Linked DNA regions of Homo sapiens: region 1 is linked to region 2. Evidence: promoter capture Hi-C in 16 types of primary human blood cells and fetal thymus (Javierre and others, 2016). All regions are on one chromosome and are shown on one strand. The core of a region is centred on a gene start or on the middle of the fragment in contact, and the rest is flanking DNA. Distances in the headings are between cores, read along the strand shown.

Region 1 (4,938 bases), core at 389-2,888, 39 kb before region 2:
TTTATTATATATGAGAATGGAATGAAATTGAAAAGGCCTGTGATTTTTAGCACATAAATTTGATAAAACATTCAAAGGAATTATACATGAAAAAAGCCTATTTGACTCATTTTGCCCTATAAAGACATTTATGAAAGACTTTGGATTGAACTCAGAACACAGGACCTGTGACAATATCTGGGTGAAATATTGACCTTTTCATTAGAAAATACTGAGACTGTCTTCCCCTGAGCAGAGTCAGCTCAGATCTTACCTCTACAGCTGCTCATTCATCTGACAACCTCAGGGTCTACAGAGAAGATTCCACTTAGCTGGTCGGCAAACTCAAATTCATTAGCCACAAAAATGTCTTCTTGGAGAGGATTCCAGGCAATTTTATGAAAGATTAAAATAAGGCAATTCTGAAAATAGCACATTCTTCTGAAAAATGCCACTAATGGCAATAGAAACAAATAAGGCTTAAAAACTGATTGAAGAATGTGAATAGGTATCAAGAAAAATTATTCAGGCCGGGCACGATGGCTCACGCCTGTAATTCCAGGACTTTAGGAGGCCAAGGTGGGAGATCTCTTGAACCCAGGAGTTTGAGACCAGCCTGGGCCACATAGGGAGACACTATCTCTATAAAAATAAAAATGAAAAAATTAGCTGGGCATAGTGGTGCATGCCTGTGGTCCCAGCTACTCGGGAGGCTGAGATGACAGAATTGCTTGAGCCTGAGAAGTCAAGGCTGCAGGGAGCTGAGATCACGCCCCTGCACTCTAGCCTGGGCGACAGAGCTGGACTATGTCTCAAAAAAAAAAAATAATAATAATTATGCTTGTAATTGCTTTTTAATATCCAGATAATCAATACAACAAAGAAGGCATTTGTTTTTTGCTTTAATGTAAACATATGTTATTTTTTACTTTTTGAAAGAGCATTTAATTTTTTCTCTCCAATTACAATTTTCACTTTACTAGAAACAAAAATTACACACCCCTAGAGTATTTTCCCCTTGTCCTTATATACCAAGATATTTCAGTGGAAATTTATTTTTCTTCAGCTTCATTGAGTTATAATTTATATCCAACAAAATCCACCTATTTTAATTTAGCAATTGGTAGCTGTAGTGTAACCATCACCACAATCAAGAAATAGAACATTTTCATCACTCTAAAAAGTTTTCTTTTGACCCTCCCCTGAGCCCTGACCCCAATTACTAATAATCTCGAAAGCATCGAAAGCATCTTTTAAACAACGTAATTGAGGTATAATTGCCATATAATAAACTATACATGTTTAAAGTGTGCAACTCACATGTGTTGACACATGTGCAAGTCTTGAACATGTGCTCAAGATGTTCAGCATCAACAACAAGATAGTCAGCATATGCCTCCTTCCATTGTGTGGTTATACTGCAGTTCCTTTATCCATCTCACCCATTGATGGACATTTGGGTTTTTTCTATTTGTAGCTATTACAAATAAAGCTGCTATGACTTTTGCTTATTTATGCAAAAGTCTTCACTTGGGCACAGACTTTTCTCTTGGATAAATACCTCGGAGCAGAACAATGGGGTCATGTGGTAGCTGTGTGTTTAATTGTCAAGAAACCGTCAGTTTTCTTTTTTCTTTCTTTTTTTTCTTTTTTTTTTGAGACAGAGTCTGGCACTCTCGCCTGGGCTGGAGTGCAGTGGCGCCATCTCGGCTCACTGCAGGCTCCGCCTCCCGGGTTCACGCCATTCTCCTGCCTCAGCCTCCCGAGTAGCTGGGACTGTTTTCTAAAGCGGTTGTACCATTTTACATTCCTAACCACAGGGTGTGAGAGTTCTGGTCTCTACACATCCTCGCCAACACTTGGTGTGGGAGCTCTTCTTGCAGTTATTCTAAGCTGCTTGTAGTAATAGCCACTGTAGTCTTAATTTGTGTTTCCTTAATGACTGATGCTGCTGAATCTCTTTTCATGTGCTATTTACCATTTCTATATGGTGGGTGAAGTATCTATTCTTTTCTCTTTTTTTTATTTTTATTTTTTGAGACGGAGTCTCACTCTGTCACCCAGGCTGGAGTGCAATGGCGCGATCTTGTCTCACTGCAACCTCTGCCTCCTGGGTTCAAGTGATTCTCCTGCCTCAGTCTCCTGAGTAGCTGGGATTACAGGCACCTGCCACCATGCCCGGCTAATTTTTGTATTTTTAGTAGAGATAGGGGTTCATCATGTTAGTCATGCTGGTCTCAAACTCCTGACCTCAGGTGATCCACCCACCTCAGCCCCTCAAAGTGCTGGGATTACAGGTGTGAGCCACTGTGCCTGGCCTATTCTCTTCTTTTTTTAAAAAATTAGGTTCTTTGTTTTCTTACTGTTGAGTTTCAAGCAATCTTTATCTATATGGCTACAAGTCATTTATCAGATGGGTGATTTGCAAGTATTTTCTCCTGTGGTTTGTCTTTTCATTCATTTATCAATGTCTTTCAAAAGCAGAAGAACCTCTTCACTTTGACAAAGTCCAATTTATGGTTTTAGTTTTTGTTTTTAAACATCGAATACTTTTGATGTTGTCTCTAAGAAATCTTTGCTGGCCGGGTACCATGGCTCACGTCTAGAATCCCAACACTTTGGGAGGCCGAGGCAGGAGGATGGCTTGAGCCCAAGAATACCAGCCTGGGCAAAAGGGCGAAACCCCATCTCTACAAAAAATACAAAAGAAATTAGCTCGGTGTGGTGGCAAGACCATGAGGGAGGGGCCGTAGGGAGACGCAGGGGCATAATGGCAAGTGGTTAATTCTAGCAGCCTAAGAGGTAAAGTAAACAGGAAACCGTTGAGGTGGTGTTCAGGGCCACAGGAGAGACTGGAACACTGGCCAAATGCTTGGCTCTGTTAGAGTGAGCAGAATAAAAGCAGGCCGGAAAAAGCAAGTCAGAACTTTGGCGATTTCTGTCACTATCAGGAGGCACTGGACTGCAAGTCACAGAATAAACTCATCCACCGTGACTTAAACACGTAGGGACTGTCCTTCTCCCATCACAAGAAGACTAGAGCCATGTCTCTGCTGGGGGCTTCTGAGGTTCACGTTGTCAGAGCCAGGATGTCAGCAGTTCTTGGATCTTTTGTCAAGGCCATCTCTGAGTCACCTCTGTCTGCAGGGGACTGTGGGATGGTGAGTGTTTAGCTCTCCATCCTCTGGATGGAAGCAGGCAGGGGAGAAGAAGGTTGGGGAGGGTGCTGGGTTAGCCACCCATGTCCACCCTGAGCATGCTGGGGGCCAGGCACGCAGCTTCTGCAAGACAAGCGTGGTCCCGAGCCCACCTGGAAATCTGGGAGCTGGCAAGTGTTCCCTGAATTCCTGCCTCCCTGCTTCTCCATCGGCAGCATTGCTCACCGCATTCTTGTTGTAACCTGTCTCGGCTGTGAGCTCTGGGCGTTTGCTTCCTTCCTGGGTAGCTGCCAGTCTGAATTATTTATGAACCTAAGGTACACACTGATGGCATTCCAACAAAGGCCACCAAAGGGAGCAGCCTGTCTGTAACCCTGAAGCTTAGCACACAGCGAAAAGGACTCAGATAAAACTGTAAGCTTCCTCTGCAGGGAAGAGGAAGGACTGGACTTCTCCAGGGCAGGCGGAGGCACCAGAAGCAAACCTGTTCCTGCTTCCCTCCGTTTTCCAGGTGCCTTAGGGTGACTGCGGTAACTGGGAGCTGAGCACTGATGGGCAATGGGGCAAGAACTGGGCCATGTGCCTCGGGGTCCCAGCACACAGGCCAGCCCCTGAGGGTAGGAACGAGAGCCCAGACTCTGGAGGCAGGCAGACCAGGGTTTATGCCCTGGCAATTCCTGATGGGGCCGAGGATCTTCACCTCTTTGTGCTTCAGTTTCTCTATCTGGCCAGTGGGGTTGCTGTGAGGATTAAATGCAGCCGTCCCTGTGTGGTAGATTGTTTGCAACAACAACAAAAAAATGGCCACAATTGTTCCACTCCCTGAGTTCACACCCCCTTGCAATGTGACTTAACAGCAACTCTCACGGAGAGGCGGAGTCTCTTCCACACCCTGGAATCTGGGCGGGCCTGTGACTCACGATGGCCAATAGAATGCCCTGCAAGTGACGTCATGCCCTTCCGAGCCTTGCAGCTTCTGCTGGTGGGAAGGCCGATGGCAGAGCCCAGGGAAGTTATGTAACGGGCCCAGCTAATGAGTGGCAGAGGCCAGAGGGCTTGGCCTGCAGAACTGTCTAAGGCCAGAGGCCGTCCATACACTCCGTCTCCTGAAGGGGAAGCGGGCTCTTCTCAGATGCACAGGGACAATGTGAAAATCCTGTCCTCAGATTGAGAGGCTGTTTCGTGGGCACCGAATTCGGGGTCAGGAAAGCAGCCTGCATCCACGAGTATCCTCGGGTTACTAAGTGGGGCCAGTGGCTCCAGGTGTAACCCATTTAAGTTTGCCAGACAGCCGGGATGTAAGGAATGCCCTAATGATTCCCCTTTCCCCCCCACGGAAAGTGGGCAGTGGGGTCTGGGAAGGGGTTTGGGAAGGGGTCTGGGGAGTGGGATGAGGTTGGGACTAACTCTTGTTGGCTTTCCTTACAGAAGGGGTAGCTGGAGTGTTTCAGGTCTATTTGCTTGTTTTGTGTTTTTCAATTTCGGGTTTTTTTTTTTTTTAAGACAGGGTCTTGCTATGTTGCCCAGGCTGGTCTAACTCCTGGATTCAAGCGATCCCTCCACCTCAGCCTCCCAAGTAGCTGGGACTACAGGCATGAGCACCTGCACCTGCTTGTTTTTTTGTTTTTTTGAGATGGAGTCTCACTCTGTCACCCAGGCTGGAGTGCAGTGGTGTGATCTTGGCTTACTGCAACCTCTGCCTCCTGGGTTCAAGCGATTCTCCTGCCTCAGCCTCCCAAGTAGCTGGGACTACAGGTACGTGCAACTATGCCCAGCTAATTTTTTGTATTTTTAGTAGAGA
Region 2 (5,286 bases), core at 2,774-5,273:
TGGAAGCTATCATGGAATCCTGAAATCAAGGTGTGTCCCGGATGTCTCCAGGGAGAACCGTTCCAGGCCTCTCCCTGCTCCTGGTGTCAGCTGGCACTGCCAGGCTTCCTGGCCTCTCCCTGCTCCTGGTGTCAGCTGGCACTGCCAGGCGTCCCTCGGCTTGTAAGGGCGTCACTCCCGTTGCAGGCCGTCTTCTCCTTGCCCCTTTACTTCACCTTCCCTCAGTGTGTGTCTATGTCTGTATCCAAATTTCTCCTTTTTGAAAGGACACCAGTCATGCTGCACTAGGGTCCCTGCTAATGACCTCATTTTAATCAGTTACTCTGTAAAGGTCTTATCTCCAAGCACGGTCACATTCTAGGGGACTGGGAATCAGGACCCCAACATACCTGTTTTGGGGGGACACAATTCAACCCTAACACTCCCATTTTCTAATAGAAGAGGAGAGGGGAGGGAAGGAGGGAAGGGGGAAGGGGCCGGAGACCTCGGCAGGAGGGAGGGAGAAGCCAGCCTGCCGCCCTGCGCGCACCGGCTGTGTTTCTGTGCGTTGTGCTTTTGTTCTGCATGCTGGGCGGGCGGAACAGGGTGCTGGCATCCAGGCTCACCCAGAGGGGAGGGGGACCTGCAGGGGGAGGGGAGCACTCAGGGGATCAGGGGAGGAGAGTGTGGGCCAGGTGACCTGCCAGGCGAGAGAAAATCGGGGAATCCGCACAGCATTTTCAGACAGCCTGACAGCAGCCGCTCGCTCCCCTCTGAGCCCCAGCCCCCAGCAAGCGGGCCTCTGGCCCCAGGTCTGGGAGCGGCGTGGAAGTAGACCTTGGCTCTCCCTCCCCGGCAGCACCCCACCTCCCTTTGTCTCTCCAGCCAGAGGTGGGCCTGTGGGGATGCTAATCTCAGAGCCACCTCTCCATCTAAGGTTGCTAGAAATTCGGCAAACAAAAGATAGATTTAGAGAACAAAAAAATTTAAAAAAAATAATATGGCCGGTTAAATGTGAGTTTCAATTTCCAATAAATAAATGTTGCCTGGGATATGCTTATATCAAAAACTTACGTGTCACTTACCTAGCATTTGCATTTCACTGGGCCTCCTAAATTCTGTGTGGTAACCGACTGCCACCGGACATGCTGTTTACTTCTCTATCCTCACGCAGCCAGTTGCCACATTCAACATAACACTGCAAATATTGCCGGTGGATCCTGACTTCCTCGTGGACCCTACTGTGTCGGGAAAAACAAACAAACGAACCCTGGAAGGAAACACCATGAGTTGTTAGTAGTGCCTGTCTCTGAATGATGGGCTTACAGGTGGTTTTCAATTTTTTGTCTTTAATTTTTTTTTTTTTTTTTAGACTGAGTCTCACTCTGTTGCCCAGGCTGGAATGCAGTGGCATGATCTTAGCTCACTGCAACCTCTGCCACCCGGGTTCAAGCGATTCCCCTGCCTCAGCCTCCCAAGCAACTGGGATTACAGACATTCGCCATCATGCCCAGCTAATTTTTGTGTTTTTGGTAGAGATGGTGTTTTGCCATGTTGGCCAGGCTGGTCTTGAACTCCTGACCTCAGGAGATCTGCCTGCTTTGGGCACCCAAAGTGCTAGGATTATAGGCGTGAGCCACAGCACCTGGCTTGTCTTTAATTTTTTGTTTATACTTTTCTATACCTTCTAATTGTTTTCAACCAACACGTATATCCCAGAAAATGTTTTAATGATTAAAATAAAACAATTGCCCTCTCCTCCTTGGAGCCCCATCCACAAGAGCAGCTTCTGCAGATGTGGGAAGGAGAAGACTTTGTACCTGGGTCCCAGGCCACGTGAATAATTAACCCTGTCTAGGGAGCCTTGGAGGTCTGATGAGGCCAGGGCTTGAAGGAGAGCCGCGGAGCACGCCAGGATCCAGGCTTGTGGGTAGCAGCATCCCTGGAAATGGTCCCCAGTGGGGGAGGAACCAGTAGCCATCACCTCCAACCCCCAGCCACCGCCCCGCGCCATGTGAGTGAGGTGGCATCTGGTTTTCCACACACACCTCCCCATGTCGCTGGACGCAGGCAAGGCCACCCAACCCCCAAGCCAGAGTCACCCGGACAGACGGATACTAGGCACCTTAGCACTTCCATGGCCAGAGGCCTCCTGAGGTGGGAACCGGGTCCTAGCCCATCCCAGGCCATCCCCTCCAGGACCTTCCTGGAGGAGCGGGGAGACCAGACTTAGAGGAAGGCTCCATGTCCCAGGTCCAGACAGGGGTGAGGGGGAAGAGGGGTGAGCACCTGTGTTAGGCACTTTGAACTCTCCAGGTCAGGTGACTGCATCCAGCTGAGACTCCTGGCCTCCCTCCAGCGTGGAATGAGCAGCCGGTCCTGTCCCGTCCACCCCTCCAGTGCTGCGGAACAGAACGGGAATGGCAAGTCCCCATGTGCTGTCTCCCCGCCCTTCTACAGCACCGGTGGCACAAATGCTGGGGACAGTGCCGGCCCCACTCACAGGAGAGCTGCTGGGCTGGCTCCAAGGCTCCTCCGTCCATGGCTGCTGGGCTGGCTCGGAGGCTGCCTCCGTCCATGGTCTCTGCAGTGGACAGTCTGTGTCACGCCTCCATCTGTGGTCTTTGCAGTGGACAGTCTGTGTGACGCCTCCTCCGTCCATGGTTTTTGCAGTGGACAGTCTGTGTCATGCCTCCATCCATGTCTTCCAGCAACACCACCTCACTCTGCTTTACACAATCACTCCACCTCCGTGTAATGCCCAACCTTGTTTTTCCTTTATTCACCTAGCCTTGCTTCTCCCTTAGCTGAGAGAGTCACACAAACTCCATCTTGGCTCTTTCACCGGCAGCCCCTTCCTCAAGGACTTAACTTGTGCAAGCTGACTCCCAGCACATCCAAGAATGCAGTTAACTGATAAGATACTGTGGCGAGCTAGATCCGCAGTTCCCAGGAATTTGTCCGAATGATAACGCCCGAAGCCCCGCGTCTATCACCTTGTAATAGTCTTAAAGCCCCTGCACCTGGAACTGTTTACTTTCCTGTAACCATTTGTCCTTTTAACTTTTTGACTACTTAACTTCTGTAAAATTGTTCTAACTAGACCCCCCTCCCCTTCCTAAACCAAGATGTAAAAGTTAATCAAGCCCCTTCCTCGGGGCCAAGAGAATTTTGAGCGTTAGCTGTCTCTTGGTTGCCAGCTAATAGAGGACTCCTAATTCATCTCAAAGTGTGGCGTTTTTCTAACTCGCTCAGGTACAACATCCCCACATGCCCTGCCCCCGCTTTGTATGCACACAGCACACACCTGTGCACATACAAACATCTGCTTTCACACATGGACACACTCACTGAGGTGAAGAGGCACACTCAGGCACACACACACTCACATTTGGTACATGCAGCTCCTGAGGGGCAAGGCTGAGCTCCTTCTCAGGAACGGACACAAGACTGAGGGCTGGGTCACTCAGATACTTTGCCCCTCGGGCCCCACGGATTGATTTAGGGGTGAACTGTGAATCCCTGGGAGATTCCTTCCTGCCACGCATTCCTGCTGATGGGAAACAAAGCGGTCTTTGAGGGATGCTGGAGGAGGCAGCAGTTTGTGATAAAGAGCTGTGAGAGGAGAAGCCCCTTTGCCACCTGCCCTCCTTTGTGCATTGGATGTTGTCCTCAATGGACGTGATGCCTGGAGTCCCTGCAGCCATCTTGCCTCCATGGGGCAAGCCAGGAAAACCTCACCGACTTAATGGCTTCCCTCCAGCCTTTCCAAAGCCTTGCTCTGGTCTCAGAGAGTTAGGAATTCTGTCACTTAAGGCCCAGAGCATCCTGCTGCTCCCTTCACTCCAGAACCAGAGCCACACGGCTAACAGGCAAAGGGTCAGGAACATAGCCCGTGTTTTCTGCTCTCGGCACTTGGTCATTCTGCATAGAATTTGGCTCCAAGGCCTGGCCTGACACCTTCGCACCAAGGTGCCGTAAATGAAACCTTTACTCCTGAGACTTCCTCACCTCTGCGTTCCCAGGGATCCACAATCTTCTATTTGTAAAATGATTCCCGGTTGTCATGGAGACCAGGGCACCGCAGTGGAGCTGGAATGTTAGGTGGGGTCCAAGGTTCAGTCCTGGGGGTAGGGAGTGGGGCAGGCAGCTTCACTGGGCCCTTTATCTGCCTGATTCTCATCTTTCTTACACAATAGTCTACTCATTATTCCTTCCCTAAGGGCCAGGACACAGGCCTGCCTGGGGTTACAGTCCCTGTCTTTACAAGTCCTCTCCTTCTGGCTCTTGGGCGTGCCTGAGCTCAAAGGAGCCTCCAAGCAAACTTGGCAGGGGGTGTCCCCCAGGGCAGAGGTGGGGCCCTGGCTCAGCACCCCCAGAAACCACAAGGTGGGGGCGGAGGATCCTGCACCTGACCTTCACCTTCGTGTGGATCAGATCAGAGCAGAAGTTCTATTTCTGGAACTGTCAGACCTGCTGACCTCCAGTCAATGGCAGAGGCAGGAAGGCAGGCAGAAATACAAGATGCAGCTCTTGTTACACCTCCTGCACAGACCAACCTAGTCTCGGCTCCACACAGCCACTCACTCTTTCACTCAACACGTGTTTCCGAGCATCTTCTATGTGCCTTTTCTCTATCATCAGATGGGGGCCCCTGCGGTGGGCAGAATAACGGCCACTGCAAAGATGCCAAATCTTATCCCCAGAGCTTCCGCAGAGATCCTGCAGATGTGATTCGAGTCTTCCAGCAACACCACCTCACTCTGCTTTGCACAATCACTCCACCTCCCCACATGTTGCGGAGATTCTCCTGGGTCAGTCGGGGGGTCCAGTGTCATCCTAGGGTCCTTATGAGAGGGAGGAAGGGAGGCGGAGGAGGAGATGCAAGGATGAAGCGAAGGTTGGAGTGATGTGGTCTGCTGCGGGGACCCTGAGGCGTGCAGGCGGCCTCTGGAAGCTGAAAAGACAGGAAGGCAGCTTCTCCCCTGAGCCTCCAGAAGAACCCGGCCCTGCTGACACTGGCCCAGGAGCCCCTTCCCCCATCAGGGCCTGGAGAGGGAAGAAATGACTGTTCACAGATTTTACCCCGCAAGACCCATTTCAGCATTCTGATTTTGAGAACCATAAGACAGTGTGTGTTGTTTAAGCCTCCAAGTCTGTGGATATTCATTACAGCAGCCTTGGGAAACTGACACCACCTCCCCCTAATCCTCCCTCCCGCCCCCACCTACACCTGAACCCTCCCCTTGCTCTTCTCTGCCGATTCACAGGGATTCACACTCTTCCTACTTGCAGCTGTGACACGGG

Evidence for each region. The method cuts DNA at HindIII sites, captures the fragments that hold promoters and counts their contacts. A CHiCAGO score of 5 or more calls a contact.
Region 1: a fragment that was not itself captured here is called in contact with the fragment with the promoter of LINC00479 in region 2 in 1 of 17 cell types (M2 macrophages); the score reaches 5.2 in M2 macrophages.

What each region holds. Positions count from the first base shown.
Region 1 is chr21:41,675,076-41,680,013 of GRCh38, forward strand. It overlaps LINC00111 (long intergenic non-protein coding RNA 111), which reads left to right and starts at 4,227. Exons shown (of 3, transcript NR_024367.1): 1 at 4,227-4,435. RefSeq lists an enhancer at 4,073-4,222. The HindIII fragment of the contact is 3,754 bases long and covers 1-3,515 here.
Region 2 is chr21:41,711,752-41,717,037 of GRCh38, forward strand. LINC00479 (long intergenic non-protein coding RNA 479) reads right to left here and starts at 4,024. Exons shown (of 6, transcript NR_027272.1): 1 at 3,991-4,024; 2 at 3,369-3,532; 3 at 2,483-2,601; 4 at 2,269-2,381; 5 at 1,800-1,921; 6 at 1-1,249. It overlaps LINC00112 (long intergenic non-protein coding RNA 112), which reads left to right and starts at 4,685. Exons shown (of 3, transcript NR_024028.2): 1 at 4,685-4,793; 2 at 5,250-5,286. The HindIII fragment of the contact is 7,368 bases long and covers 1-5,286 here.